Regions from separate parts of the Homo sapiens genome. Here region 1 is linked to region 2. Evidence: promoter capture Hi-C in human tissues and cell types (Jung and others, 2019). All regions are on one chromosome and are shown on one strand. The core of a region is centred on a gene start or on the middle of the fragment in contact, and the rest is flanking DNA. Distances in the headings are between cores, read along the strand shown.

Region 1 (3,191 bases), core at 521-3,020, 130 kb before region 2:
CTGAGTTCATACTCCCAGTTCATTCTCATCTACTGCCATTACCCAAAACACAACCCAGGAAGGCCTAGCACAGACATATTCTCATGCTGATTTATCCATACACAAGAAAGAATATTGGTAGAGTTAAATAATTTGAAAACTGAAGTCTTCGGAAATTTAAAATAAATAGAGGCTGAGATTTTTTTCTTGGACCACACAGAATTGAAGGCCCCAAAACTATGCAAAATACAAATACAAAAACCACATAAAACTTTTTGCCTGTTTTTATTTCCAAATAGTTTCCACATAAAATTCTATGATTTGAATTGTATTAAAATTGCTCATAGTAGGATAAACAATAATTTACCCATTCTCTGACATTAAAGACAACCATTTATTTGCTGCCACTTTATAATCTAACCAAATGTAGGCATTTTTAAGATAATAGAGAAAATATCTTTAAGCACCCTGTCACCTTGGAGCTGAGTTAAAAGCCAAGAGTGCTATATTACAGTTTTAGGTCAAAAGGCCAATCAAGTTGAAGGCAGTCTCTGGAAACAGAGACTAGTGTACAAGTTGCTATCTTTCTAACTCAACTATGATCAGAGCATGAAATCTGTCCTTTATTAACCTCCATCTTCCTTCACAAAAGACATTTGAATTAGTTATAGACATATATACCCCAAAAAGAAAGGTCATGGGAAACATGTCAACATTTTCAGATCAAGGAAGGATTCTCAGACAGAAAAGGTGCTAGGATGCTTCTATATAGCAACAGATGCCAATGGAGAGCATTTCACAAAAGTAACGTCTGTGATTATTTTTTATTTTTAAAAGCCTTCTTTTTATACAAGTACAGAATAGTGCCCAAATTGTTAAGTATGTAATGAAGAATTTTCACAAAGCGAACACACCCACCTAACTAGCACCCAGGTCAAGAACTAACATTACCAGAACATGGGAAGTTCTCTTCATACCCACTTCTAGTCACTACTCAATCCCCACAGTAACTGGTAGCCTCCAACAGAGCCAAGAAAAGTCCAAAATCCTTTACTGGTTGTTTTAAAAAACCAAACCAACCAACCAAACAAAAAACACCAGAATCTAAAATGGCTTGGCAAAATAGTATCTTCGACTTTCATAGTCTAAAGTTAGGATATGACTACTTTTACTGTTTTCCTGCCACTCCAGATATATTGTGAGCCAAGTACACAGAAAGAAGGGGTAAAGAAACTGGCTTCCACTGAGTCCCCATTCTAAGCCTCAGATACTGAGCTCTGCAACAACCTGGGAGGGAGTTTTTACTGATGAGGCTCAATGAGAATAAGCAACTTTCTCAATGCTATATGGCAACAAGTAGTGGAGCCGGGATGCAAAACCTTGTGCTCATTCCACTACATCCAGAGTCCTCATTATGTTCTGCCACCCACTGGGTTCCGTAAAAACACCCCCAGGGACACCAGAGGGAGACCAGAACAATCCCTACCCTGGCTTTGCCCAGAGCAGTGCCTTTTAAAAAAACTGTTTTATACAGTGGGGCTCTGTATACAATTTCAAATGGAGGAAGGGTTTCACATAAAAAACAGCCTATATGCCAGAGAATAGAGATAGCAAGGTCTAGAATCTTCTGTTTTCATTATTCTGTGTAATACTGAAAGCAAATTTTATTTTTTTCTAAATAATTAATGATACAAAATTCATAAGGTACAGAAGATACACAGTGAAAAATAATAATTTGCTTATTTTGTCCCCCAGGTACCTGGTTCTCCCCCATAGTTTCTAGTTCCAGTTTCTTAGATATTCTACTAGAGAATGACTATGCACATTTAAACAAAAATTACCCACAGAGTAGGAAAAATACCCAGAGAGTAAGATATTATACACAGTACTGTGTACCTTATGTATATCATTTTAATGTATATCAATGACAAGAGTATTTGGTAAAGGTTACTAACATAAACAATGCTTCTTCATTTCACTATAGTTTCTCATTTCAAGTTAATGATAATCTGCCATTACCTCTGAAAGGTAAAGAAAATATTGTACTACTGAAATAGGCTGTTCCAGAAAAATGAGAAAAAGAAAACACTAAATCCTATCATGAAGGATCGAAAACTTTCTAAATTTTACACATGGTGAAATGGAAGAATGCTCAAGGAATTTTATAACTAGTTTCAGGTTAAAAGACACTGTTGAAAATCAAAACCCCTTGGGCCACCAACCACTTGGAGTTCTGCTTCCCCCCTTAGTAATCTTAACCTTACACATAGATTAAATACTCACGAGCACCACTGTTACAAGTTTAGCATGGCAGGGCTGGAGGCCTCAGAAGTTATCCAAACAGTGGAGGACATCCCTAAACCTCTGTGCTGCTAGGATCTCAAGCTTCCACAGGCCGTTTACTGACTTGCTGCCACCCATGAGTTACCACTGTTCTCTGGCCCTCCTCTCCAGTCAGGCATCAGGACCACCCACTAGAACCATTATTTTTCTTTTCTGCCTCAGCCTTTTCTATTCCAGGCAAAACGGTTCTTAATCTCTCCTGGCAGATTTTATTTTTCAGCTTAAGCATCTTTACGGGTGGTGTGGAAATTAATTTCCCAGCGCTAAGCTGTATTTGTGCAGGCCTCCTGGTTAGGAAACTGGTTTAAATACTCACTGTTTCTTCCATTAACCAAATATTTGAGGGAGAGCAAGTCAATTAATTTTTTGGAGACTCTCAGTTTTATCAACTGTAATAATGTTAGATTAGATGATGTTTGAATCTCTAAAGATAATCTGAATCACAGAGGGGAAACAACATTTTTCTCCAATATTCTCTTTTTAGGAAAAAGAAGGTAAACTGCAAGAAAATAAGGTGACATTAGGAATTTTTTATGGATGGAAAAAAAAGACAAAGAAGCAAAATATATACACGCTAAGTGCCAAAAGACACACAAACCCCAAACTCCCCTATGTGATTGCCAGTGCATGTGCTGGAGTCAGATTCCAGCCCAATTTTCCAGATGACAGTTCTCTACAAGAACTGATGTTTTAAATTACTGCCATAAGGGACTACAGGATCTTAAATCATTGATGAAAATATAACTCTTTTCTCTATGCTCTAGGTCATAATGTAGGGAAAGTGCCTTGATACACTTCAGAGAACTAAAAGGATGTTCTTGTTAGCCAAATAATTCAATTAACTGGAACCAGCATTATGGTGGAGCTTT
Region 2 (3,071 bases), core at 546-3,045:
CAGCAAGCCGGTGAGCCTGGTCTTAGGTTGACGCCCAACTTCCTCCTCCCTGCCTGCCTGAGAGTCACTACCACTCCACTCCAGGCCAGACCGGGCCTGCCACTAGGGCCTTGTGCCTTGGGGCCAGCCACTTGCCCATTTCTTTGTTTTTATTTTTTGTGTTTGAGACAGGGTCTAGCTCTGTTGACCAAGCTGGAGTGCAGTGGCACGATCTTGGCTCACTGCAACCTCTGACTCCCGAGTTCAAGCGACTCCAGGGCCTCAGCCTCCCAAGTAGCTGGGATTACAGGTGTGCACCACAACGCCTGGCTAATTTTTGTATTTTTAGTAGAGACGGGGTTTCATCATGTTGGCCAGGCTGGTCTCGAACTCCTGACCTCAAGTAATCCATCCACCTGGGGCTCCCAAAGTGCTGGCATTACAGGCATGAGCCATCATGCCCAGCCCTGAATTATTTTTTAAAAAGTAGAGATGGGGTCTCATTATGTTGCCCAGGCTGGTCTCAAACCCCTGGGCTCAAGCAATCCTTTCACCTCAGCCTCCCCAAGTGCTGGGACGACAGGTGTGAGCCATCATGCCCAGCTGGCACCATGTTTCTTGTACGGCCTGCAGAACTGTGGCCTAACTAAACTTCTTTTCTTTGTGAATTACCCAGCTTCCTGTATTCTTTTACAACAACACAAACAGACTAAGACTGGAGGACTGCCTCTCCCAGGCTAGACAATTCCTAGAGATAGGAGGCAGCTCTCTGGGGAGGTGGAATTGGCAGGCATCTCTCTAGGGAGCAAAGGCAAACCAGTCCAGAGCCATACCCAACCACCTCCTTTATACAGCTCTCAGCTCCTGGCTGCCATCCACCAGCCATAATCACCACAGAGCCGGGTACCAGGAAGCTGGCTGGGGACAGCCCCTTTCCCCAGAGCCTGCTGCCAATCGTAAACCTCTTTAGCCTGCCTTGCCTATTCCTTCCCGTGGCAACCGTGTCAAAGGGGCTTGCCCACATTTTCCCCCTGCTCCCTCTGCCTCCTGGCTGATGCCACCTGGTGCTTCCCTCTGTGGCCCTATGTGGCATGGCCTGCTTCCTGTTCACAGGGAACTACGAGCAAACTCCTTCCCTCATGATAGTCATTTGCATATCTGCTTGTCTTACTATACTTCATTAAAACAAATCTCAGGCCCCCTTAAGACATAAAGACAGGCCAGGTGCGGTGGCTCACGCCTGTAATCCCAGCACTTTGGGAGGCCGAGGCAGGTGGGTCACCTGAGGTCAGGAGTTTGAGACCAGCCTGGCCCACATGGTGAAACCCCATCTCTCCTAAAAATACAAAAATTAGCCGGCCATGGTGGCAGGTGCCTGTAATCCCAGCTACTCAGGAGGCTGAGGCAGGAGAATCGCTTGAATCCAGGAGGCGGAGGTTGCAGTGAGCCGAGATCGCGCCATTGCACTCCAGCCTGGGTAACAAGAGCAAAACTCTGTCTCAAACAACAACAACAAAAACAACGAAACAAATACAGCAAGAGCAGAGCGCCTGCCCAGAGAGAATGCACAACCCCTGGTCTGCCTCCAAACAGGACTGTTTCCTGAGCGGTCGGCCCACTGCTCCCTGTCCCTGTCTCACTCTTGACTCCTCCACACCAAGTACCTCTGCAGGCCCAGCAGGTGTGTCTTACCAGTGGCTGTGGCAGGGCATGCCAGGAGCAGACAGACCACCCCGACCAGGACCCCGGACTCCACTCTCACTGCTCTCTCCATTCTCCTTACAACTGGTTCGACAGAAGCTTCAGAAGGTGGAATAAGATCCCTGCCCTTCAGCACCACCGATCTCTAAAGGGCTGTGATATAGAACCTCCAAGGACAGCGCCACCTAGCTGGTGGCCAGCCCCATGCTCAGGCTGAGCCAGAGGCAGGGCTAGATGAGTGCCCTGCAGAGGCCTGGTTGATATGACAGCCCTCCCCGTCCCACTGTTTTCAAATTCCAGCTCTCCTGACTTGGTGATCTCCATGAAATCCTGTGCGTTCATCCCAAGGTGACCACATCACTGACCCTAGGAAGTGGTGGCCAGTGACCCTGGGGTGCCACTCCGAGTGGGCAACCCAGCCTGAGGTGAGGGCTTGATATGGTTTGGATGTTTTGTCCCCTCCAAATCTCATGTTAAAATGTGAAAGAAAATAAAACAGTGATGATAATAGGACCCACCTCATAGCATTGAAGTGAGGGTACATGTTTGCATGTGTGTGTGAGTGTGTGTGTGAAAACATGAGGCTTGGGACTGGGTGTGGTGGCTCATACCTGTAATCCCAGTGCTTTAGGAGGATGGGGCAGGAAGATCGCTTGAGCCCAGGAGTTTGAGACCAGCCTGGGCAACACAGGGAGACACGTCTCTAGAAAAAATAAAAAAAATTAGCCAGGTGTGATGGTGCATGCCTGTGGTCCCAGCTACTTGGGAGGCTGAGGTGAGAGGATCACTTGAGCCCAGGTTGTCGAGACTGCAGTGAGCTGTGATAATGCCACTGCACTCTAGGCTAGGCTATAGAGCAAGACAAAGAAAGAGAGAAAGAGAGAGAGAGAAGAAAGAAAGGAGAGAGAGAAAGAAGGAGAGAGAGAAAGGAGAGAGAGAAAGAAAAAGAGACAGAAAAAGAGAAAGAAACAAAAAGAGAAAAAAGAAAAATAGAGAGAGAAAGAAAGAGAGAGAGGGAGGGAGGGAGGGAGGGGAGGGGAGAGGAGGGGAGGGGCTTGGAACCAGAACTCATGGAAGCCTGAGGAGAGGAGAGTCTGGGAACCAGAACTGATGGAAGCCTGCTCTTGACCGGGGCGGGGATCTGCAGGGCATCTGTCTCTCTGCTGGCTTAGGAGGCTCCCACCCCCAGGGAGGGCAGGACTCACTTCTGGGCCTCAGTGTCAGGAACATGGCTGGCTGGGAGTAGGCGGTGGGAGGATGGATAGATATTTGCTGGCCCAGTGAAAGACAGAGTGAGGGTTGTGCCTAAACACGATGCCAGATCCTCTTCCGGGGCTCCAGCTGGCACCCAGAGCTGAAGAGACAGGCTTTAGGATGAAACTTCCCTTCTG

What was found. Contacts are between HindIII fragments. The study calls those that stand out against the background at their distance.
Region 1: a fragment that was not itself captured here is called in contact with the fragment with the promoter of CES3 in region 2 in 2 of the 25 tissues and cell types used here (IMR-90 fibroblasts and dorsolateral prefrontal cortex).

Annotation. Positions count from the first base shown.
Region 1 is chr16:67,087,923-67,091,113 of GRCh38, reverse strand. All of the region lies in intron 5 of CBFB (core-binding factor subunit beta), which reads right to left. Among named protein-coding and RNA genes, the nearest start is that of PHAF1, 20 kb to the left of the region's middle. The HindIII fragment of the contact is 5,567 bases long and covers 1-3,191 here.
Region 2 is chr16:66,959,990-66,963,060 of GRCh38, reverse strand. CES3 (carboxylesterase 3) reads right to left here and starts at 1,795. Exons shown (of 13, transcript NM_024922.6): 1 at 1,672-1,795. The coding sequence starts at 1,753. RefSeq lists enhancers at 1,604-1,813, 1,598-2,099, 1,904-2,153. The HindIII fragment of the contact is 25,956 bases long and covers 1-3,071 here.